Regions from separate parts of the Homo sapiens genome. Here regions 1, 2 and 4 are each linked to region 3. Evidence: promoter capture Hi-C in human tissues and cell types (Jung and others, 2019). All regions are on one chromosome and are shown on one strand. Each heading gives the region's core, a stretch centred on a gene start or on the middle of the fragment in contact. The rest is flanking DNA. Distances are from core to core; before and after follow the strand shown. Region 1 holds the start of PLAUR (plasminogen activator, urokinase receptor). Region 2 holds the start of CADM4 (cell adhesion molecule 4). Region 3 overlaps ZNF221 (zinc finger protein 221). Region 4 holds the start of ETHE1 (ETHE1 persulfide dioxygenase).

Region 1 (6,388 bases), core at 3,530-6,029, 290 kb after region 3:
GCTGAAGTGGGAGTTTCGCTTGAGCCCAGGAGTTCAAGGCAGCAGTGAGCTATGATCATGCCTCTGTCTCAAAAAAAAAAAAAAAAAAAAAAAAAGGGAAATTGGGAAATTGTGGCTTAGAGAAGTGAGGTCATCCCACCAGGAAGTGGTAGCAGCACAGCACACAGCTCCGCATGACCCTCAAACCTGAGTTTTCTCTTCACTGAGAGATGCCCCCTACCCACCCCAGACCCATTTCATAGGTGGCAAAGCCGGGGATTGATGGAGTGAAGCCATCTGCCCAGGGTCACCCAGAAGCAAGTGGCTGAGCTGGGTCTCAAGCCTGCTTGGACCAACACCCCAACTGTCTATTTCCCCACCTCATGTACATTCCGATCTAGTTTAGTTTTCACACCAGCCCAAGAGGGATCCCCTTCTCCAGCTGAGAAAACTGAGGCTCAGAAAGAAGAATGTCATTGGCCCAGGGTGACCCAGCCAGGGAAGTGCCCACTTCAGCAGCTGACGCGTGATAACTGTTGACGTCAGACTCAATGACAGGCCTCCATCTCCCTTCCTACTCCAGGAAGAGGTGAATGTCCAGAGTTGCAACAATGATAATACTGGCAGCTATCGCTTTTATTGAGCACATACTATGTACCAGGCACTGTGGCAAGCATCTTAGGAGCATTCTTCTTTTTGTTTGTTTGTTTGTTTGTTTTAGATGGAGTCTAGCTCTGTCGCACAGGCTGGAGTGGAGTGGTGCGATCTCGGCTCACTGCAATCTCTGCCTCCCAGGTTCAAGCAATTCTCGTGCCTCAGCCTCCTGCGTAGCTGGGACTACAGGTGCATGCCACCACACCTAGCTAATTTTTTTGTATTTTTTAGTAGAGACAGGGTTTTGCCATGGTGGCCAGGCTGGTCTTGAACTCCTGACCTCAAGTGATCCACCTGCCTTGGTCTCCCAAAGCACTGGTATTATAGACATGAGCCACCATGCTCAGTCATTTTAGGTGGATTCTTTTACCTCCGCAGTACACCAGCCCTGGGAGGGTGATACTTGCTATCTCTACTTTCCAGATAAGGGGCTTGGGCACAGAGATAGATTAAGTAACCTGCTAGAGGTGACACAGCCAATATGTAGATGCAATTTAGATTTTCACAATCTGAGACCAGCTCCCACACTCTTAACCATTGGGCTATACTACCTCTTAGGAAATTCTCTGGGAGTTCTTTTTTTTTTTTTTTTCAGTCTCACTTTTGTTGCCCAGGCTCGAGTTCAGTAGCTCGATTTTGGCTCACTGCAGCCTCAAACCCCTGGGGCTCAAGTGATCCTCCCACCTCAACCAGAGAGTAGCTGAGACCACAAGTGTGCACCACGACACCTGGCTAATTTTTCTATTTTTCATAGAGACAAGGTCTCGCTATGTTGTCCAGGCTGTAATTTTATTTTTTTATAGATACAAGGTCTTACTATGTTGCCCAGGGTGGTCTCGAACCCCTGAGCTCAAGCAATCCTCCAGCCTTCGCCTCCCAAAGTGCTGAGATTATAGGCATGAACCACTGTGCTCACCATTGGGAGTTTTTTTGTTTTTTGTTTTCTAACCTTATCTTAAAATCATTAGCTTACAGCTTCAATGAGTTAGTAAGAATCACATAGTACAGGCTGGAAGCGGTAGCTCATGTCTGTAATTTCAGCAATTTGGGAGGCCAAGGTGGGTGGATCACCTGTAGTCAGGAGTTAGAGACCAGCCTGGCAGACATGGTGAAACCCCATCTCTACTAACAATACAAAAATTAGGGCCGGGTGCGGTGGCTCACCCCTGTAATCCCAGCACTTTGGGAGGCTGAGGCAGGTTGATCATCTGAAGTCAGGAGTTCGAGACCAGCCTAGCCGACATGGCGAAACCCCATCTCTACTAAGAATACAAAAATTAGGGCTGGGCGCAGTGGTTCAAGCCTGTAATCCCAGCATTTTGGGAGGCTGAGGCGGGTGGATCACCTGAAGTCAGGAGTTCAAGACCAGTCTGGCCAGCATGGTGAAACCCCATCTCTACTAAAAATGCAAAAAATTCGCCAGGCATGGTGGAGAATGCCTGTAATCTCAGCTACTCAGGAGGCTGAGGCAGGAGAACCTCTTGAACCTGGGAGGCAGAAGTTGCAGTGAGCCGAGACCGTGCCATTGCACTCCAGCCTGGGTAACAAGAAAGAAACTCCGACTCAAAAAAAAAAAAAAAATAGCCAGGCATGCATGAGAATCCCTTGAACCTGGGAGGTGGAAGTTGCAGTGAGCCGAGACCACGCCATTGCATCCAGCCTGGGAGACAAAGTGAGACTCTGTCTCAAAAACAACAACAACAACGACAACAAATCACATAGTATAATCATTATTACAGCAGTAGAAGTAGCTACCACTTACTCATCCCCTACGACTCTCTTCCTCTCCTAATCTGTTCCAGCCACACTGACATCTCTTCTGTTCCTAGAATCTCATCAGGCTTCCACCTCAAGGCCTTTGCACTGGTTGTTCCTGCTCCTTGGAAAGGTTCCCTGCCCATCTGCCCTACTTCTTCCCTCACTGCATTCAGCCTCTGCTTGAATGCCACTTGCTCAGGGAACCCCTCCTGGATCACCCACCTAAAACAGCTCACACCTCATTTGCACCCAGATACTTCCTTCAGCCTGCTTTGTTTTCTCCAGTTTGCTTATCCCTCTCAGACAGTGAAAGATTAGATAACACATATCTGCTCCCCACTGTCAACACAACAAAAGGTGGGAACTTTGCTTTGCGTCCTGCTGTGCCCCTAGCTCCTGGACCAGTGCCCAGCACAAAGTAGGTCCTTGGTAGATGTTAAAGGAATGTGTTGAGCCCTCCATTTCGGCCAGCAGCTATTCCAGGCATTGCACCTACATTAAATTGCTCTGTTTAGTTAGATGCATCCTAAGACGGGGAGACAATTTTATCTTTAGTATTTTATTTTACTTAAAAAAAAAAAAAACTTGGCCAGGTGCAGTGGCTCATGCCTGTAATCCCAGCACTTTGGAAGGACAAGGCAGGTGGATCACCTGAGGTCAGGAGTTCGAGACCACCCTGACCAACATGGTGAAACCCCATCTCTACTAAAAATACAAAAATTAGCCGGGTGTGCTGGCGTGCCCCTGTAATCCCAGTTACTCAGGAGGCTGAGGCAGGAGAATTGCATGAACCCAGGAGGCGGAGATTGCAGTGGCCGAGATTGCACCACTGCACTCTAGCCTGGGTGACAGAGTGAGACTTCGTCTCAATAAATAAATAAATAAATAATAAAAAGAAAGAAAAAACTTATTATAAGCCTTTTCAAACCCACAGAAAAGGAGACAGAATGGCATAATATGCCCTTATATACTGATTACCTTTATATAATTGATACAACCATTTGGCTATTTTGCCTTTATTTTCTACTCAAGTATTTATTTATTTATTATTTTTTTGAGACAGGGTCTCGCTCTGTTGCCCAGGTTGGAGTGCAGTGGTGCAATCATAGCTCACTGCAGCTTCCAGTTCCCAGGTTCAAGCGGTCCTCCCACCTTAGCCTCCCAACTACCTAGGACTACAAGTACGGGCCACTGCACCCAGCTAATTTTATTTTATTTTTAATTTCTTTTGGAAAGATGAGGGCTCTTTATGTTTCCCAAGCTGATCTTGAACTCCTGGCCCCAAGTGATCCTCCTGCCTTGGCTTCCCAAAGCATTGGTGTTACAGGCATGAGCCACCTCATCTGACCTCTTCTAAAATATTATAAAATAAATACAGACATCAAAATGAAAACAAAAGAAAAAGAAAAAACAAAACAAAAATCCCCAAAACAACAACAACAAAAAATGCAGACATCAATAACATTCACCACTAAATACTCTAGTAAGCATCTGCAAAAACAAACAAACAAACAAAAACCAGAATCCCACCTAAGCATACAGCCATTGTCGTAACAGTGATATCTACTTTTTTGGCTGAAGTGTCTTTTTTTTTTTTTTTTTTTTTTTCTGTGAGAAGGAGTCTTGTTCTGTTGCCAGGCTGGAGTGCAGTGGCACGATCTCGGCTCACTGCAACCCAACCTCCGCCTCCCGGGTTCAAGCGATTCTCCTGCCTCAGCCTCCTAAGTAACACACACACGCCACTACGCCCGGCTAATTTTTGTATTTTTAGTAGAGACGGGGTTTCACCATTAAGTGTTTTAATGTAGGTGCAATGCCTGGAATAGCTGCTGGCCAAAATGGAGGGCTCAACACATTCCTTTAACATTTACCAAGGACCTACTTCGTGCTGGGCACTGGTCCAGGAGCTGGGGGCACAGCGGGAAGCAAAGCAAGGGTTAAGTGTTTTAAGTGTTTAAGAGATGCATATTTCAGGATGCATCTCTAGATAAGGACATTTTCCAAAATACCAGTATCCCTCCTGACAAAACTAACAAAAATCCTGTTAGCCAAATAATCAGCCACATTCATATTTACCGTCAAAGTTTTTATCCTCATTTTACAGCAGTGGAGAGCGATTGCCCCGGGTCCCACGTTAGGAAGAGAGAGAACTGGGATTTGCACCCAGGCAATCTGGGGACAGAGCTGTGATCACAACTCCATGAGTCAGGGCCGAGCCAGCCCCTTCACCACCAGCCGGCCGCGCCCCGGGAAGGGAAGTTTGTGGCGGAGGAGGTTCGTACGGGAGGAGGGGGAGGCGCCCACGCATCTGGGGCTGACTCGCTCTTTCGCAAAACGTCTGGGAGGAGTCCCTGGGGCCACAAAACTGCCTCCTTCCTGAGGCCAGAAGGAGAGAAGACGTGCAGGGACCCCGCGCACAGGAGCTGCCCTCGCGACATGGGTCACCCGCCGCTGCTGCCGCTGCTGCTGCTGCTCCACACCTGCGTCCCAGGTAGGGGCTGGGTCCCGAACGCCTGCGCCTGGAACAGGGTCTAATTGAGGGGGTTGGGGGTTGTCAGAGGATGAGTTGGAGGAATGCGGTTCAGTCCTCAGCATCCTCCCTAATCAAATAATAGTAATTCTCGTGCTTTGTGCAACGCCACGCGGCGCAGTACCTGGCACTCAGTAGCTAAGGAAATATTAGTGGAGCAAAGGCATTTAGCTTTACATAATTTAGTGAGTGCTTTTTTTTTTTTTTTTTTTTTTTTGACAGAGTCTCACTCTGTCGCCCAGGCTGGAGTGCAGTGGCGCGATCTCGGCTCACTGCAACCTCTGCCGCCCGGGTTCAAGCGATTCTCCTGCCTCAGCCTCCTGGGTAGCTGGGATTACAGGCGCCTGCCATCGCGCCCGGCTAATTTCTGTATTTTTAGTGGAGACCGGGTTTCACTCTGTTAGCCAGGATGGTCTCAATCTCCTGACCTCAGATGATCCACCTGCCTCGGCCTCCCAAACTGCTGGGATTACAGGCGTGAGCCACCGCGCCCGGCCCAAGTGTTCTTTTTTTAAATGGAGTTCTTCGAAGCCTCTTCCTTGCAATTTCAAACTAGGCGATGGGACTTTATTAATTTCGTTTCGCAGAGGAAACTAGGGCACAGAGAGGTTAGATAACTGGCCTAAAATCACACAGCCAGTGCTTGAATACGCAGGATCTGACCCTGCAGCGCCCCCCAGCGCTCTCCACGCTGCTGGGTCTCCCCCTCTGAGAAACGGGGGGACAGGACCCCCTTTTACAAAAGGCCCAAAGGGAGGCTGACTGAGCGGCGCAGAGCCAGTGCTGGAGACCCGGGACTGTCCCTCAGGACCTTTCCCTCTCACTGAGGCGACTCTCACTTACTTCCCCGGAAAATGTGGGGGGCTCTGGGTCGAGGAATTCGAGAAGGAACTGAGTCAGGGCGGGTGGCCACAGGGTGTTGGGGCCGCGATGAATAACCCGGAAAGCGCTCGAGACCGCGGGAGGCCGGGAATGAGTAACAGCTCCGGGATACTCCGAACGCGCAGCTGGAAAGGGATGTCCGGGAAGGCCCGGAGGTCGGGGACCGGGCCTAGGGACTGGGCTGCAATCTCGGGGCGGAGCCTGGGGCGGGGAGAGAGTGTCGGGGAGGAGCCAGAGGGCGGGGCTGGAACCTCAAGGAAGAGCTACGGGAGAGGTTACAGACCGAGGAAGAGCTAGGAGCGGGGCTAGAACCTCGAGGCGGAGCCAGAGGGCGGGGTTATAACCTCGAGGCGTAACCAGAGGGCGGAGTTATAACCTCGGGAGGAGCTAGAAGGTGGGACTAGACTCTTGAGGGGCAGGATTATAACCTCGGGGAGGAGCTAGAGGGCGGGGCTGGAACCTCAAGGAGGGGCTAGGGGCGGGGTTATAAGCTTGGGGAGGAGCTACGGGGCTGGGCTAGGACCTCAAGGGGCCAAGGGGCGGGGGTTACGACCTCGGGGAGGAGCTACAGGGTGGGGCTGAAAC
Region 2 (6,380 bases), core at 32-2,531, 320 kb after region 3:
TAGGCATGGTGGCGGGCGCCTGTAATCTCAGCTACTCGGGAGGCTGAGGCAGGAGAATCACTGGAACCTGGGAGGCAGAGGTTGCAGTGAGTCGAGATCGTGCCACTGCACTCCAGCCTGGGCAACAGAGCGAGACTCCGTCTGGGCGGGGAGGGGGGAGGGGGGAAGGAAAGATGTTCATAATTGGCACTTCTGGACCTCAGTTTGCCTGACAAATGGGCATGAGAGAGGTCGAGGCCTTCTTTCCATGGTTTCTCACTCTTTCTGGGTCCCATAGGTAATGATCCCGCATCAGGTCTACAGGGTGTCACAGAAGTGGGCTCAGGGAAACCCACTCCCAGGAGGGAGAAGGGACCTAAGTCTGGAGGGGTGAGTCACCCTCAAAGATGGGGAGAGAGGAAGGGCAGAGGCAAATACATGCAGAGAGAGGGAGAGAGGCTGGGGCAGGGAGACAGCAGGGAGGAGAGGGGACGCCAGGGCTTGGAAGGTGTTCACAGGAGCCTCTCCCTCCTGGGACCCAGGATTCAGGCTTCCTTCCAGTTAGTTCACTTTCAGGGGGCCCCTCCCGGAGAATGACGCGGAAACACGGGGTTTTCAGGTCAGGACAGGAGAGAGGGAGGGAGGGAACTGACCCCACCCCACTCCTGAGCCCCAGCCTCGCCCTGCCCTGGGAGATCCTTGACCTGCCTCGACCTCCGGACCCTCCGGACCTCCAGCTGCAGCCTCCCCTGTCCCGGTGGCTCAGCTCACAGCCTCTCGCTAGACTCCAGACACCCACCTGCCCGCAGCACGCCTCTCACACTCACCTTTCCCACGTCGCACTCCCTCCCTTACGCTCCCCCGTCACGCTGGCCACGCTCTCCCTTCGCACACACCGCACCCCACGACGCCCGCGCCCCCACCCTCGCACAGCCTCCAGCAACACCCTGCCACCCTCCCCTCCGCGCAGCGCAAGCACCCTGCATGCCAGCAACTCCGCACCCTCGCGCGCAGCACCTGGGCCCGCACGCAGCACCCTCACCCAACACCCTCCATTTCCCGCGCTCACCGAGATCCCCCACCTGCTCCCACGCCGCTGTCGCCCTCCCGCGCACCCCTTCCCGCCCTCCTCACCCCTCTCCTCTCCAGCTTTCGCACCCCGCACCGTTCCCCCACCGTGCCGTCCCCCCGATTGTCTCCGGGCCTCTCCTCCGTCTCCCCCTCCCCTCCCCGGCCCCGCCCCGGCCTCGGCGCCCCGCCCCCGGGCGGGCAGGGGGCGGGGCGCGGGGGGCGGGGCGGGCGGCGCGGGCGGTGCAGGTGCCGGGCCGGGAGCGAGCGGCGGCGGCGGCGGCGGCGGCACCATGGGCCGGGCCCGGCGCTTCCAGTGGCCGCTGCTGCTGCTGTGGGCGGCCGCGGCGGGGCCAGGTAGGGTCGGGGGCCGGGGTCGGCCGGCCGGGCTGGGGCGGGGGGCGCGCTGTGGTGACAGCCCGGCAGCCTCGGGGCCGCAGAGGCCGAACAATGCGCGCGGGGCCGGGCCGGGCCCCCTCCCCGGGACAAAGCGCAGCGCGGGCCGGGAGCCGGGAGCGACGAGCGGGGGAGGGGGCGCGGGGCCCGGCCGCCGTGCCGCAGCCCCCCCACCCGCGCAGGCTGGATCCCGGCGGGGACAAAGGGCCCGAGACCCCCCTACACACACAAGTCCGCCCTCCCCAGGCCGGTCCCGCTGTCCTTCTGTCCAGTCTCTGCGTCCCTCTGTCCGCCCGTCTCTGAACCCCCCCGTCTGGCTCCTCGTCCCCCTACCCTTGTCCTCTATCCCTCAGTCTCGAAGTCCTGTCCCTCCTTCTGTCTGTCTCCCTCTCTTCTTGCCTCGGTGTTCCTCATCTATTCTGTCTTTGTCCCCTACCTCTGTCCCCTGGTCTCTGTCCCCTTTTCCTGGGTCACTCTGTCCCCTCCATCATCCTGTCTATTCTCTTTCCCCCGGATTTCTGCCCTCCCTCTCTGCCCCTATTCTTGGTCCCTGTCTCTGTCTCGCTGTCACCCTTGTTTTTCTGTCCCTTTTTCTCTGTCCCCTATCTGCCCCATCCCCTTGTCTCTGTCCCCTGTCTTTCTGTCACTCGTTTCTCTAACCCTTTCTGTCACCTGTCTCTTTCCCCCTTCTCTGTCCCACTATCTCCATCCCTGTCTTTCTGCTGTGCCTCCTCTCTCTACGCTTACAGCCTCCATCCCGGGATCTCCCATTCCCATCCTACCTTCCTCCCTCTCTCTATCCCTCTGTGCCCCTGAAGAGGAATTCAGTCAGGCAGGGCATTCTAAAGAGCCCTGGAGGGGAACATCTGTGTGCATGTGTGTGGGGAAGTGAGAATGGGGGACCTTGGCGTGTAGGCACACACGTGGATTCAGCGAATGCCTCTCCAAACCCTGCTCACCCATTCACACACCCAGGCTTGACTCACAGAGAAGCCCCTGTCCAGGACATCCAGGGAGCCATCCACATACCCTCATCACACACTGTGAGAAGCTGGAGACCCCCGAGGTTGGGTGACCCTGAGAATGGGGACAAGGTCAGGAAATGTCACCCACACACACTCTCACACTGTGTAAGTCTTGAACCTGCCACGGGTCACCCCTCCCTGGTGGATAAGGCCACTTTTGGAAGGAACAGAGGATTGGAAGGTGGCTAGGCAGAAGCAGGAGGGCTGGGTGTTCGGCAGAGATTGGTGAGAGGAGTTATAACCAGGTGGCATGGGGCTGGCGGCCTGGGCTTAAATCTTGGCTCTTGCCATTTGCCATCGCAGCCAATGGTAAACACCTTCCTCTCTCCAGGCTTCTGTTTCTCTTTCTGTAAAGTGAGGATGTTGAACTCAGTGACATGAAAGGGAACGCCAGCTCAGACCGTGAAGGGGTTTCTGGCAAGTTGAGTGCGGTTACATGTTCCCCACTCCAGGGTTTGAGGCAGAGCCATCCTCACCTCGGCCAGGATGAGGGGCAAAGCTGTCCTCTCACTGTCTTTCTTTCTTCTCTAGTCTTCTGTGACTGCTTTAGAACTTGCATCATTACCTCCTTTCTTTACAACAGACATGCCACAATTTCCCAGATGAGAACTTTGGTACCTCAGTGACATTTCCATCAATTTTAATTTATCTTTATTTTTTAGGCTAAACACCAGGCTCATAGAATCCTGGAACTAATGAATCCAGTAAATAAAGAACCTGATGGTACTTTAGAATGCTGACATCTACAGGATTCTAGAATCCAGAAGGCTTTAGAATCTTGACACCTTTAAAGTTCTAGAACCGTGATGGTGTTAGCATGCTAGCATCTTGACGTCTTAAAAATCGTGAAATCTTGATGTCTTGGAGTTCCTGGATCTTGACATCTATGACATTTAGAATCCTGACAGCTTAGAATCATCAGACTTTGAATTCTCAGGATCAGAATATAGCTTAAGGTGACCACCCGCCCCGTGCAAAAGCCTTTCTCTGGTGCTTCTGGGAGTTAGGTCTACAGCCCTGTCCCTCGTTTGATTTCCAAGTCACTGCTTCCTGGCACCCTAACCCTCTCTGTAAACTTTCTCTAAAGTAAATAGTATGTGGCTTTTACCAGTAGAAACTGAGCTTGGTGTCATGGGAAGAGCTCTCAGCTGGGAGCTAAGGAACTTGGGTCCAAGCCTTACCCAGGACCCTTTAGTATAATTTTGCATCAGTCCTTGTCCCTCTCTGGGCCTTACTTTCCCGTTCTGTAAAGCATGGGGTAGGAGGCTGTAGCATGTGGTCTTGGAGGGCCCTTCCTGCTCTCCTTTCCATTGGATATTTCTCAGTGGCCTTGGCTACCACATTTTAGGGGGTATCTGTTGTTCCCACATTTCTCTCTTAGTCACTTCTTCCTCTCTCACCTTGCCCAGCCAGCAGGAATCGGGGGAGATGGGGTGCATTTGCGCCATTTTAAAAACATGTTCTCTCTCTCCTGGTTCATTCATCTTCTGAGCATAGCAGAAGAAGATGAGATTTATGCCCAAAGAAGGATCCAGGGTGGGCAGAGGAGAGAAAGCAAGAGGGAGGGATGGGTTGCCTGCCCAGGGATGCACCCAGGCAGAAATGGGACCCGCAGCCAGAAACTGGGTAGAACAGAAAGGAGGAGAGGAAACAGATATCCAATACAAAGAAAGAATAGAGAGGCTATTAGGAGTTGAGGGGTCTTGTGGAGGGGGCAGTTGTTGGTCCCTAAATAATGTTTCCTTCCCAGGGTGACTCACTTTTTCCTGCTAAAATTCTGACCAGCCACTCTTGAGAATAGGGGGACCCTCCCTCCATTGTGAGTCACCCCAAGGAACAGGTTTTGGAGGTTTCTATCACTGACCCCCCCACCCACCCACCCATGAGCCAGGCGCCTGTGTCCCCAGAGCCTGGGGGTGGGGGTCAGGTTCTGCAGTGGATTCCAAGACCTTAGACACAGCAGGGCTGGGGCCTAAGGCTGGGTTAATGTCGTGCGAGCCTGGCCTGTCCCCATCTTGGAGAACACAAAGGCAGCTTTCTCTCTCTGGGAGGGGTGGGGGGTGGCCTGGAGACAGTCAGACCCGCCAGCATCCAATGGCCTGTGGCATCAGAACGGAAGCACCCACTGATTTCCGCCTGTGCAGACCCCAGGCCCATAGGGAGCAGGCACGCAGGCTCCTCCGTGGGCACCCAGTGGGGCAAGGGGCAGGTGCTGAGCCTGGGCTCTTCTGGGAAGAGGGGGTGAATAGAGGGCACTGGGCGTGGAGGTTCGGACAGAGGGAGCTCAGTGCAGGCCTGCACCCTTCCCGGAGCAGGAATTCCTCTCGTACCCCACACCCAGGGAGGACCTCTGGGGGACTCCCCACTCCCTGGCTGGGCCTGAGGCCTGGAATCCAGGGAGTCCCGAATATCCCAGGAATGTGGGGGCCACAGCGGGGACTTTGTGTGTGAGGTTGCTGACTCACCCCTACGCCCCCACCTGATGCCTAGGTCCCCAGATGGGAGGGGACAGAGGATTGAGGAAAGGCAGGACTGTGCTTCTAGGGGTTGAGGACTGGGGAGTTAGAGTCAAAAGTTTTCAGGAGAGGAGGGGCTGGATCTGATGGAGGAGGGGCTGGGGGCCTGGACTCCTGGGTCTGATGGAGGAGGGTCTGGGGGCCTGGACTAATGGGTCTAAAGGAGGAGGGAGCTAGGGTCTTAGACTCCTGGGTCTCAAGGAGGAGGGGGCTGAGGTCTTAGGCTCCTGGGTCCAGGGAGGAGGGGGCTGGGGTCTTAGACTCCTGAGTCTGAGGGAGGAGGGGCTGGGGTCTTAGACTCCTGAGTCTGAGGGAGGAGGGGCTGGGGTCTTAGACTCCTGGGTCTGAGGGAGGAGGGGCCTGGGATCTTAGACTCCTGAGTCTGAGGGAGGAGGGGCCTGGGGTCTTAGACTCCTGAGTCTGAGGGAGGAGGGGCCTGGGATCTTAGACTCCTGAGTCTGAGGGAGGAGGGGCCTGGGATCTTAGACTCCTGAGTTTGAGGGAGGAGGAGGCTGGGGTCTTAGACCCCTGGGTTTAAGAGAGGAGAGGGCCGAGGGCTGGAACTCCTGTGTCCGGAAGGAAAAGGGGGCTGGGAGTCCACACTCCTAGGTCTTGAGGGAGGAAGGGATGAGGATACAGACTCCTGGGTCCTGAGGGAGGAAGGGGCTGGAGGCGGGGGATTCCACTGCAGGTTTCTGAGGGAGGAGGGGCTGAGACCCTGACGCCTAGGTCCTGCGAATACAGGCGCCTTCACAAGGCTGAGCTGGGGAAGAATTGACGCTTTGTGCGAGGATGTTCGGACTCCGCCATTGATGGGGGGCTGAGGGGGGTTCAGTCAGGACGCAGGGATGTACCACCTCCCTAAGGGAGGAAGGGGGAAGGAGGCAGGATGCCAGGAGCCCCCTGGGGAGCGGATACAGAGGGGGTGGTGGTGACCTTCCCGGAACTATGACCTTGAGACTCCCTTGGGTATTCGCTGACTCAGGACCCAGGAAGCGCTCCCCCCACCCTGCTTAGTCTCCGTGGAAACATCCACCAGCTGTGTACTCTGGACCCCTGGCTCCTGGGTCCTGAAGGAGGAGGGGGCTGGAGGCCCAGACTCCTGTGTCTAAGCTAGGAGAGGGCTGGGGGCTCTGACTCCTAGGTTTGAAGGAAGGGGCTGCTGACAGCCCAGACTCCTGGGTCCTGATCGAGAAGGGGGCTAGGGGTCTGGATTTCGGGAACCTGAGAGAGGAGGTGGTTGGGGGCTGAATTCCTGGGTCTAAGGCGGAAAGAAGCCGGGGTTCCAGACTCCTGGAACCTGATGGAGGAGGGGCTGGGAGCCTAGACTCCTGGGTCCTGGGAGAGGAGGTAGTTGGGGGCTGGATTCCTGGGTCTTACGCATTACCTGCTCCGC
Region 3 (5,918 bases), core at 2,289-4,788:
TCCTGAAGTTCTCTAGCATCACATCTCGGTACAGCTTCCTCTGGGCAGGGTCCAGCAGCCCCAGCTCCTCCTCAGTGAAGACCACAGCCACATCCTTGAATGTCACTGCCTCCTAAAATATCCAACATACAAAACCTAAATCTTATGACCAATGATTATTCAAAGAAGGGTGGCACTAAGTAGGCAAAGGGGACAGGTGTGGTAAGTTGTCCTAGATCTTGAGGGATGTAGGTCAACATACAGATTTCCCACTCATTCTGCCTATATCCTGACAATGACACACGCAGATTTTCATGAGCTTCATCAGAAGTGCAATGATATAAAAGAAGTCCTGTACTTTTACTTTGTGCAGTCATTGAGTCTACTTGTAAGTAGCCCTCTAGGACTCTACATGCTGCCTCCTGGGCTACAGGTATTTAGGTTTTAGTGTGTTGTTGCCAATTGCCCCAGTAACATTTAGAAGTTTAGTCCCAACTTTGATAATTTCCATTGTCTTCCTCTCTTCCATTGTCTTCCTTTCATACTCAAACTGTGGATGTTGTTAACTTTTCTTTAGTATCTGTCAAACTAACCAGTATATGGTGACCTGTGTGGGACAGCTATGCATTGCATCCTCTATATGCTCAAGGCACAAACTACATACATTAGTTGCATCATTCAATGTCATGATATGGAACCATCATGCCTCAGAGCACATCCCAAAGCTTTGTCCCTTCCTAGATGTGTGGCTTTGGACAAGCTCACCTACATGCATTAGTTTCCTGTCTGTATAATGATTTTCACCTGGTATCGTTTTTTCAAGGATTAAAGAAGGAAATATATATAGCATTGGGAAAACTGTGTGGCAAAGACTAAGTATTTAATAAATATTATCTATTTTTATTATAACTGTCATTATTGTTATTTATTTCATCTCATTTCATATCTGCAAAGTATTCCAGGGCAAAAATGATCTCTTTTTATTTAAATAATGAATACTTCATATTAAATATTTTTTATTATCAATCCTGTAAAGAAAATAATTTTATATAGACTTTATTCTCCTGATTATTTAAAATAATGTCAAATGAAAATGAGAATGTCAATAAACACATTTAAAATTGTGATTACATAATTTCATACTTTCTTCCAAATTTTTTACCTACTTCCCACTCTTCCGAGTGAACACAAGTACCCTTATTCTCCTTATGATGGTTAAGAGCAGGTTGTAAATATTCCCATGGTTTCGGTAATATGATTAGGAAGAAGAATTCATTGTATTAATATCATTCTCACTTATTTGATTATAAATGAGCAGAATGGCTAACATTCCTGACCTTGGTTGCCTATGTGAATCTGAGCAGATTTCTCATATTTTATGAGTTTAAGAGGAAGATGAGACTAAAACCTGCATTCTGCTTCTCTGAGTAAATATAGTAACACAACACAAGTGATTGGCCAATCTTCCAGTATCACTGGACATTTCAAATGAAGGTACCTACTACTTTGGTAAAACTGCTTACTCCATAAAGGAATAAGAAGAGACCAATAAATAACATGCATACAAGGTATGAGTAAGGCATGGCAAACACAGAATCTAGCTCTTCCTGTGTGAAAACTCCAACAACAATATTTGTGGGAAGTAGCAGTCAGAGCCTCATGTGCTGTGCCCTGTTGAAATAATCTACCATCTATAAAACAGCCAATGTAATACATGTCAAAAGTATCCTATCTTGTTTTCAGAATTAATTTTGGGGGGAAGGGGTTATATATAGGAAAGCTGTCACAGCAGTGTTGCTTAAAACAGTAAAATTCCTAAACCACCTAAATGTCTATGAGTGTGAAGTAGTTAAAAATAAGAAGGTACATTAATTCATTGGGACTATGATACCAATATAAAAATGGAACATTATATAATATTATATAAAACGAGCACAATTTAAAATTAGAGGTATGTCATCAATAAAAATACAGTTATGAATGTACATGATGAAGAATACAAGATAAAAACAGCTAATTTGTGAGCAGAGAAGTAGTGAAGTGAAAGAATTATCCATTCCTACTATTTTATCTACTACAGAAAAGAAATTATGTAAGAAAACAAGAACTAAAACCAAACGGAAAGTCAATTCAAAAGCAGCAAAGGAAGCATCTGGCAAACAAAATGCCCTCAAATGCTTGTTGTTCTCCTTGAGTCTTCCCAAGACAGATAAAAATGTGACAATATGAGTAGTAAGATGGAATTTTAACAGCAAGAGAGGCAAGCCCTACTCACTTTGAATGTGGTCATTTTTCCTTCTACTTCAGGGAATTTGCAGAGTCCTGAATGAAGCAGTTCAAGTGAAGGTGAAATCATGCCTGGAAAGTGCCAGGAAAGGCAGAAAAACAGACAGGAAATGGTAACTAGGAATGCCGACCACCAACATAGACAAGTATTTTCAATTAGCACATGAATGTTCATAGCAGCATTACTCATAACCCCAAACTGCAAACAAGCAAAATGCCCTCCTACGGGTAAATGAATAGACAAATCATGGCATATCCATACAACAGAATTTTATTTGGAAATTCAAAGGAGTGAAGAACTGGCTCATGCTACAACATGTATGAACCTTGGAAACATTATGCTAAGTTAAAGAAGCCAGTCTAAAAACCCCATGGATTGTAAAATTCAATTTTATAAAATATCCAGAATAAGCAAATGTATATATAGAGAAAGTAGGTTAGTGGTTGCTCCAGATTTGAGGTGAGAATGAGGTTTAACTGTACATAAGCACAAGGAGTCCAATTGGGGGGCGAAAATGATCTAAACTGAATTATGATGACGGTCACACCACTGTTCAAAGTTCCTGAAGATTATTAAATCGTACGACTGAAATGGGTAAATTCTATGACATGTAAAATACACCTCAATAAAGTTGGAAATAATAACAGTTAATCTACATGTTATTTAACTGGATTGTGGGTCCATATTGATAGAATATTTATAGTTGAAGAAACTGATTAATAAATCAGGGAGAAGTGGAAGCTAATCTTTACAGGATAATGCCCACTAATAATGTATCTCCCGTAAGAAACGTTTTTATTTTCAAAATTTAATTAAAAAGTAACCTTTCAGTGGAAAAATCTGAAAGATATCATCTTGGCCAAGTGAACAAAGTTGAGATCTCCAATGAAGGGAAAAACAGACATCATTTGGCCCCTGTTATGACACTTCAACACTTCTGTGGTATCCACACCAACAATGCATAATCTGAACCTAAACATGAAATACATAAATCCCAAATGACTATCTTTCTATAAAATACTTTGCCTATATACTTCAAGGATGTCAAGAATAAAAAGACAAAGCCTGTTGAATCTTTCTAGATTAAAGAAGACTACAGAAATGTGACACCTAAAAGCAGTACATAAAATTGGACTTTGGACTGGGGGATGGGGGAAAACAGTTACAAGAACTTTAAAAAGCACAACAAATTTAAATATGGGAGTTTGGATAGAAAAGATGATGGTGTCTAGCCATATCTAATAGGTAACAGAATTAACTAATATTAATAGTCTTTTAATTGATATCTAGTATTTAATAGTGATATTACTTAATATTATATCTAATACTACCTAGCATCTTATATGAAACTCTATAGCCAGCCCTTCCTAAATGCCTCTTACCAAGACACTCCATGATCACCTTGCTATGTGGGGTTCCTTGATGCAGAAAGCTACAATAAGTTGTTTCTCATTATAAGTTTGTTCCCAGTGGTATTTGGCTGATGGGTGTTAACAAAGCAAAATACAAAATGTAAATAATTGGAAAATTTGGGTAAAGAGCATATGAAGAGGCAGGTGCTGTGGCTTGAGCCTGTAATCCCAGCTACTTGGGAGGCTGAGGCAGGAGGATAGCTTGAGTCTAGGAGTTAAAGGCTGCAGCAAGTTAGGATTGTGCTACTGTACTCCAGCCAGGGCTCTTAAAGCTCCAACATAATCCTTGACTCCATGTCCCACATCCTGGTATAAGAGATAGACTCCCAAGGCCTTGGGCAGCCAAGTGATATGACTGAGCAGTGGTCTCAGGACCACTTCTCAGAGGGCAGTGGTCCCCTTACCACAGATCCATTAGGTAGTGCCCTAGTGGGGACTCTGTGGGGAGCCCTCACATTTCTCCTTGGCACTGCCCTGGTAGAGGTTCTCTGTTGGGGCTCCCCCACTGTGGCAGGCTTCTGACTGGGATCCCAGGCTTTCTCATACATCCTTTGAAATCTAGGTAGAAGCTGCCAAGCCTCCTTCATGCTTGCATTCTGAGCATCTGCAGCCTTAACACAATGTGGAAACTACCACAACTATCAAGGCTTGAACCCTCTGGAGCTGCAACCCAGCCTGCGCCTGGGGCACTCTAAGCTGAGGCTGGAGCCAGAGTGGCCGGATTCAGGGCACAATGTCTTGAGGCTGCTCAGGGCAGGGGGTCCCTGGGCCTGGCCCTTGGAACCATTCTTTTCTCCTAGGCCCCTAGGCCTGTGATGGGAGGGACTTTCCTGAAGACTTCTGAAATGTCTTCCAGGTCTTTTTCCCATTGTCTCAGATATTACCACTTGGCTTTCTGTTAGTCATGCAAATCTCTTTTGCGAGTGGTTGCTCCACAGCCGACATGTATTCCTCTCCTAAAAATGCTTTTTCTTTCTCTACTAAATGGCCAGGCTGCAAATTTTCCAAACTTTTATACTCTGCTTACCTTTTAAATATAAATTCCAACTTTAAGTCATTTTTTTGCTCCCATATATAATTGTAGGCTGTTTGAAGCAGTGAGGCAGCCAGGCCACTTCTTGAATGCTTTGCTGCTCAGAAATTTCTTTTGCCAGGTACCCTAAGTTATCACTCTTAAGTTCAAGCTTCCAGAAATCCCTAGGGCATGAACACAAAGCAGCAAAGTTCTTTGCTAGGACATAACATGGGTGACCTTTACTCCAGTTCCCAATAACTTCCTCATTTCCATCTGAGATCTCATCAGCCTGGACTTCATTGTCCATATTCCCACCAGCATTTTGGTCACAGCTATTTAATCAGTCTGTAAGAAGTTCCCATGGCTCAGTGAAAAAGTTAAAAAAAAAAAAGTTCCAAGTTTTCCCTCATCTTCTTATCTTCTTCTGAGCCCTCCAAACTTTTTCCAACCTCTGCCCATTAGCCAGTTCCAGAGCCACTTTCACATTTTCAGGCATCTTTATAGCAATGCATTGCACCTCAGTACCAATTTTCTGTATTAGTTCATTTCTGTGTCACTGTAACAAAATACCTGAGGCTGGGTAATTTATAAAGAAAAGAGGTTTCACTGGCTTACATTTATTCAGACTGTAAAGGAAATGTGGTGCTGGCATGTGCTCAGCTTCTGGTGAGGCCTCAGGGAGCTTTCACTCATGGGAGAAGGTGAAGTAGGAGCAGGCATGTCACAAAGTGAGAGCAGGAACAAGAGAGAGAAATTGGAGGACCCAAATTCTTTTAAACAACCAGATCTCACATGAACTAACTGAGCAGGAACTCACTAATCACCAAGGGGATAGCACTAAGCCATTTATGACGGACCCACCCCCAGGATCCAACACCTCCCACTAGGCCCCACCTCCAACACTGGAGATATGGAGGGACCAAACATCCAAACTATATCAAATGTAATTAAAAGGACTGGGTTGGACTCTGATGCTTGACCAAGTTCGAATTTTAGTGAATCTAAGCTTTAGCCACTTGCCTCAAAGCTGTCCCTAAGGGAAAAAATATACCAGGACAACAGTAAGTACCTCTAAGACCTGTGGTTACCAAAAGGCAATCAGTGTATGGGAAGGGTAAAACCAAGAAACTGAAACTACAGTGTACAGTGTGAAGGAATTGTTTATTTTGTAGCTTCTTAAGGAATCTTTACTCAACTGGATTGTGAGAGAAACTAAGTAGCAGCA
Region 4 (5,811 bases), core at 3,312-5,811, 430 kb after region 3:
GTATTGTTTGATTTACCCCCCATCCACTCTTCCCAAATGATTCTGAAGCTAAATGTCAAACATCATATCTCATAAATATCTTTTTATTACACTTGATTTGCTTGACTTAAGATCTAAATGAGCTCCACACATTGTATTAGTTTGAAGTGACACTTCGGTCTCTCTCTCTCTCTTTTTTTTGAGATGGAATCTCGCTGTGTCCCCCAGGCTGGAGTGCAGTGGCGCAATCTTGGCTCACTGCAACCTCTGCCTCCCGAGTTCAAGCGATTCTCCTGCTTCAGCCTCCCAAGTAGCTGGGATTACAGGTGTTCACCACAACACCCAGCTAATTTTTGTATTTTTAGTAGAGACAGGGTTTCACCATGTTGGCCAGGCTGGTCTCGATCTCCTGACCTCGTGATCCACCCGTCTTGGCCTCCCAAAGTGCTGGGATTACAGGGGTGAGCCACTGTGCCCACCTCTTTCTTTTTTTGCACGGAGTCTTGCTCTGTCACCCAAGCTGGTGTGCAGTGGCGAGATATCAGCCCACTGTAACCTCCACCTCCCAGGTTCAAGTGATTCTCCTGCTTCAACGTCCTGAGTAGCTGGGATTACAGGTGCCCGTCACCACGCCTGGCTAATTTTTTTTTTTTTTTTTGTATTTTTGGTAAAGATGGAGTTTCACCATGTTGGCCAGGCTGGTCTCAAACTCCTGACCTCAGGTGATCCGCCCACTTCGGCCTCCCATGGTGCTGGGATTTCAGGTGTGAGCCACCGCGCCCAACCTCTAGGGCCACAGCTATTTTCAAGAACCATGATTTTAAGAAGGCAGAGTAGAAGCCAGAAGACCAGTGAGGGTATTGTTATATATTAATTACAGTATTAATTGCTAGCACTTATTATACACTGGAAACTGTCCTTATGTGCATTAATTTATTTAATCCCCATAGCAATGTTTTAAGAGGAGGTGCTACTATCATCCTTGTACAGAGGAGGAAAATGAAGTGTGGAGGGGAAGGTCATCCCAGCCAGGAAGTATCAGAGCCAGGATTTGAATCCCTCAGCCTGGCCCTGCAGTCCAGGCAATTTGCATTTATGCTTTGCTGCCCCTTGAATGGGGCAGAGGGTGTGATAACAGAAAAGTGGCCTGGTTAAGATAGGTTAAATCTGGCTGGGCACGGTGGCTCGGCCCTGTAATCCCAGCACTTTGGGAGGCTGAGGCAGGTGGATTACTTGGGGTCAGGAGTTCCAGACCAGCCTGGCCAACATGGTGAAACCCCATCTTTACTAAAACTACAAAAATTAGCTGGGTGTGGTGGTGTGCACCTGTAATCCCAGCTACTTGGGAGGCTGGGGCAGAAGAATCTCTGGAACCCAGGAGGCGGAGGTTGCAGTGAGCTGAGATTGCACCACCGCACTCTAGCCTGGGCAACAGAGCAAGACTCCATCTCAAAAAAAAAAAAAAAAAAAAAGAGAGAGAGTTTAACTCAGCAGGGCCTGGAAGTGGGTGGAGGTGGCAAGGGTAGGAAGGAGTCAAGGATAGTGACAAAATAATGATGGGCAGTTCCCATTGAGAGCCTGTGCTATGTCAGGCTATTGAACTATTTTCAACCTCATTTTGTAGATAAGAAAACTGGAACCCAGAAGAAGATAAGTTTTCAGCCCAAGGTCCTACACCTGAGAAGGGTGAAGCCAAGTCTAACTCTTAGAACATCTCACAGCTGAGCCTATAAACCCTGCCTAGGGTGTGTCTTCAAAGGACACATAAATGGTCTAGAAATTCTGCAAAAACAACGGGAAAGGGTGCCAGGGGCGAGAAGTTCTTATTTGGGGGACCCTCTCAGTAAGGAGTGCCTGAGGGTCTTCCTTTCCCTGGCTCCTCCCTCCCCTGAGTTCCCCAAATCCCTACACCTCCCTGTGTCTCAGACCTGCTTTCCCTACCTCTCTCGCCTACCAGCCAGACTGAGTCACCTCTGGGTCCTCAGCTTTGTCTAGCTTGAGTCAGGCATGCATGAGACCTCATGCCTGGAATTTTTTTTTTTTTTGAGACGGAGTCTCGCTCTGTCGTCCAGGCTGGAGTGCAGTGGCACGATCCCGGCTCACTGCAAGCTCCGCCTCCCGGGTTCACGCCATTCTTCTGCCTCAGCCTCGAGAGTAGCTGGGACTACAGGCATCCGCCACCATGCCCGGCTAATTTTTTGTATTTTTTTTGAGTAGAGACGGGGTTTCACCGTGTTAGCCAGGATGGTCTCAATCTCCTGACCTCGTGATCCACCCGCCTTGGCCTCCCAAAGTGCTGGGATTACAGGCGTGAGCCACCGCACCTGGCCTTTTTTTTTTAGACACTCTCGCTCTGTTGCCCAGACAGGGTTTTGCTATGTTGCAGAGGTGCAATCTTGGATCACTGCAAACTCTGCAACCTCTGCCTCTTGGGTTCAAATGATTCTCATGCCTCAGCTTCCCAAGTAGCTGGGTCTACAGGCGTGCCCCACCACGCCCAGATAATTTTTTTGTATTTTATTTTATTTTTTTCAGTAGAGATGGGGTTTTACCATGTTGGCCAGGCTGTCTCAAACTCTTGACCTCAAGTGATCTGCCCACCTAGGCCTCCCAAAGTGCTCAAAGTGCCTGTGCATGAGCTCAGCCATATGCTTTTTTTTTTTTTTTTTTTTTTTTTTTGAGATGGAGTCTCCATCACCCAGGCTGGAATGCAGTGGCACGATCTCAGCTCACTGCAACCTCCACCTCCCGAGTTCAGGCAATTCTCCTGCCTCAGCCTCCTGAGTAGCTGGGATAACAGGTGTGCACCACCACACCCAGCTAATTTTTATATTTTTAGTAGAGATGGTGTTTCACCATGTTGGTCAGGCTGGTCTTGAACTCCTGACCTCGTGATCCGCCCGCCTCAGCCTCCCAAAGTGCTGGGATTACAGGCATGAGCCACCGCGCCCAGCCGGCCACATAAAATTTTAATGAAGCAATTTGATAGGCTTAAGGAAAAGCAGGCCTTCTCTGTGTAAAGGCATTCACACAGGGGCTGCTCTGAAAATAGCTCCAGGGACCATTCCCTGGAAACTCCAGAATTAAGATAAATGTTGTTGCAGGAAACCCCTCCTCAGAAGCTGTGGGACAGGATAACTCAGTGGTTCATACCTGTAATCCCAGCATTTTGGGAGGCCCAGGTGGGAGGACCATTTGAGGCCAGGAGCTGGAGACCAGCCTAGGCAACATAGCAAGACCCCTGTTTCTACAAAAAAAATTCTAACAATTAAAAAAAAAAAAAAAAGCTCTGCCCCTAGGCTGGAAATCAAGGCTGCTCTGATGTCACAAAGTGACATAGATCCTCCAGATGAGAGTGGGATGTCCTATTCTCACTACTGCTACGATTACAAAGAGCAGACTTTCTGACAGCTCATGACTTGAGACTACAGTTTTTCAGCCCCAGGTCCTTGGTGTAAATGAACACAAGCTCTTTTCAGAGGTTCACACCCCAACAGAAGATGAATAATCCCCAATCTGATTATTCAAGAGATAATGCAAAATTATCTTTTTTTTTTTTTTTAAGATTTCTTCCTGGAAAGAGAGAAACATTCCTGATAAAATGCTTATGCAATTTCTGGATGAACTTTAATGGGATCAAGTGTTGTTCTGGTAACCAGGCACCCACTCAAAAGTCCCTCAAGATATTAATGACCTGGAACCGAACGAATATCTTTTTTTTTTGAGACAGAGTCTCCCTCTGTCGCCCAGGCTGGAGTGCAGTGGCGTCATCTCTACTCACTGCAACCTCTGCCTCCCGGAACCGAACATCTTTTTCTAACCATGACTATCCTACCACCTGCTAGAAAACGGCCCCACGGGACGCGGTGGCTCACGTCTGTAATCCCAGCACTTTGGGAGGACAAGGTGGGAGGAACGCTTGAGCTCAGGAGTTCGAGATCAGCCTGGGCAACATAGTGAGAACTCCGTCTCTGCAAAAAACAAATTTTATATACATGTATGTGTGTGTGTGTGTGTATATATATATATGTATATAAATATATATATAGATATAAATATATATATATAAAATGTCGGGTGTGGTGGCAACGTGCCATAGTCCCAGCTACTCGGGAGGCTGAGGTTGGAGGATCGCTTGAACCCGGGAGTTTAAGGCTGTAGTAAGCTGAGATCGAGTCACTGCACTCAAGCCTGCGTGACAGAGCGAGACTCTGTCTCAAAATAAAACAAAAGAAAAAGGAAAAAAAACGGCCCCGAGGCTATGAGTGTACTGGGGCCTCTCCCTGGGTTTCTACTTCTCTCCCTATCTCTGTTCCTACATGAGTATGTCTGTGTGTCTCTGAGCGTCTGTCCCTCGCACTTTGAGTGTCTCCCTGTTCTCTGTTTTTTCTGGGTCTCAAAGCGTCCAGGCATTGCACTCTGGCTTTCCTCGGTCTCGCCCTCGCCCCAGTCCCGCTCGGCGGTCCCCCGCCCTCTGCCCCAGGCGTCCGTGGCCCCTTTAAGGCGTGCTCCGCCCCCGCCCCGCCCTTCCCGGGGTCAGTGCCGTAGCGCCCGGCTCCTGCAGGCGCTCGGCCTCCGCTCATTCCTGACCCCGCAGTGGGCGCGATGGCGGAGGCTGTACTGAGGGTCGCCCGGCGGCAGCTGAGCCAGCGCGGCGGGTCTGGAGCCCCCATCCTCCTGCGGCAGGTGCGGGTGGCTGGACCTAGGAGGGGACTGCTGGGCACTAGGCGGCAGCAAGGACGGAACTCCGGGGTCTCTTAATAGGGAGAGATCCGGGGGGACCCACGCCTGCATCTTGCGGAAAGCGGGGTGGAGGTTTAGGGCTGGACTCTTGGGTCCTTTAAAGGTGAGTGGTCTGGGGGCCTCTGGGCTTGGGGCCAGACCCCTGGGTCCTCTATGAAAGAACGTGCTGGGGACCCTGATTTTGGGATGTTAGGAAGTTGGAACTCTTTTGTTCTGATAGGGGAAGGTAGTGGGGCTCCGGACTCCCGACTCCCGGGGAAAGAGTGGGCTGGGGTTTCTGCTTCTGGATCTTAGGAAGAGGATAGGGTCAGTCTGGACTACTTGGCCTCCAGTGGGTGGAAGTCCGGTTCTGCGCCCTCACCTGGGTCCCCCGTTCCCAGATGTTCGAGCCTGTGAGCTGCACCTTCACGTACCTGCTGGGTGACAGAGAGTCCCGGGAGGCCGTTCTGATCGACCCAGTCCTGGAAACAGCGCCTCGGGATGCCCAGCTGATCAAGGAGCTGGGGCTGCGGCTGCTCTATGCTGGTCAGTCCGGGGACCAAACTCATGGATCCCAGCGGGGCTGGGCTGCAGCGTCAGTGGAATGGGAAGCTGGGGCCCAGAACTCCTGAGTCTGAGGGAGAAGGATCTGGGCTGGGACTCCCAGGTCCTTTCTGTACCCTCCGGACCTGTCCCTCCTCTCTCTCCCAGTGAATACCCACTGCCACGCGGACCACATTACAGGCTCGGGGCTGCTCCGTTCCCTCCTCCCTGGCTGCCAGTCTGTCATCTCCCGCCTTAGTGGGGCCCAGGCTGACTTACACATTGAGGATGGAGACTCCATCCGCTTCGGGCGCTTCGTGAGTTGGGTGCTGGGTCCCCAAGAGGGTGGTGGCCTGGACTTCTTAAACTTAAGGGAAGAGGGGACTGGGGGCCTGGGATCCTGAGTCCTTGGGGAGGAGGGACCTCAGGACCTGGGTTTCTGACCCCTGAGCTCATATTTCTGGGAGGGGGGCACCATAAACCCAGGTGGGGCACTGGGGCAAGAGGCTCTGGGCAGGTGGGGCACTGGCGGAACTCCTAAGTCAACAGCATTTAAGGAGTTTCCTT

Evidence for each region. The method cuts DNA at HindIII sites, captures the fragments that hold promoters and counts their contacts. A contact is called where the count stands out against the background at its distance.
Region 1: the fragment with the promoter of PLAUR here is called in contact with a fragment that was not itself captured in region 3 in 2 of the 25 tissues and cell types used here (IMR-90 fibroblasts and dorsolateral prefrontal cortex).
Region 2: the fragment with the promoter of CADM4 here is called in contact with a fragment that was not itself captured in region 3 in 5 of the 25 tissues and cell types used here (H1 embryonic stem cells, IMR-90 fibroblasts, aorta and 2 more).
Region 4: a contact is called between the fragment with the promoter of ETHE1 here and a fragment that was not itself captured in region 3, in 1 of the 25 tissues and cell types used here (spleen).

The regions. Positions count from the first base shown.
Region 1 is chr19:43,668,560-43,674,947 of GRCh38, reverse strand. It overlaps PLAUR (plasminogen activator, urokinase receptor), which reads left to right and starts at 4,779. Exons shown (of 7, transcript NM_002659.4): 1 at 4,779-4,882. The coding sequence starts at 4,828. It overlaps LOC124904724 (a long non-coding RNA gene), which reads right to left and starts at 6,184. Exons shown (of 3, transcript XR_007067264.1): 1 at 5,765-6,184; 2 at 4,468-4,922. RefSeq lists an enhancer at 4,711-5,010 and silencers at 5,931-6,010, 6,051-6,280. The HindIII fragment of the contact is 20,050 bases long and covers 1-6,388 here.
Region 2 is chr19:43,634,751-43,641,130 of GRCh38, reverse strand. It overlaps CADM4 (cell adhesion molecule 4), which reads left to right and starts at 1,281. Exons shown (of 9, transcript NM_145296.2): 1 at 1,281-1,404. The coding sequence starts at 1,341. It overlaps LOC105372411 (a long non-coding RNA gene), which reads right to left. Exons shown (of 4, transcript XR_001753942.2): 4 at 6,113-6,380. RefSeq lists a silencer at 1,258-1,397. The HindIII fragment of the contact is 16,381 bases long and covers 1-6,380 here.
Region 3 is chr19:43,959,144-43,965,061 of GRCh38, reverse strand. It overlaps ZNF221 (zinc finger protein 221), which reads right to left. Exons shown (of 5, transcript NM_001297588.2): 2 at 2,255-2,337; 3 at 1-112. The coding sequence starts at 2,335. Among named protein-coding and RNA genes, the nearest start is that of ZNF221, 11 kb to the right of the region's middle. The HindIII fragment of the contact is 7,430 bases long and covers 1-5,918 here.
Region 4 is chr19:43,525,951-43,531,761 of GRCh38, reverse strand. It overlaps ETHE1 (ETHE1 persulfide dioxygenase), which reads left to right and starts at 4,561. Exons shown (of 7, transcript NM_014297.5): 1 at 4,561-4,665; 2 at 5,103-5,247; 3 at 5,413-5,561. The coding sequence starts at 4,585. It also overlaps a transcript of ZNF575 not described here. RefSeq lists silencers at 436-607, 4,410-4,599 and enhancers at 5,210-5,389, 4,905-5,409, 5,410-5,811. The HindIII fragment of the contact is 5,540 bases long and covers 602-5,811 here.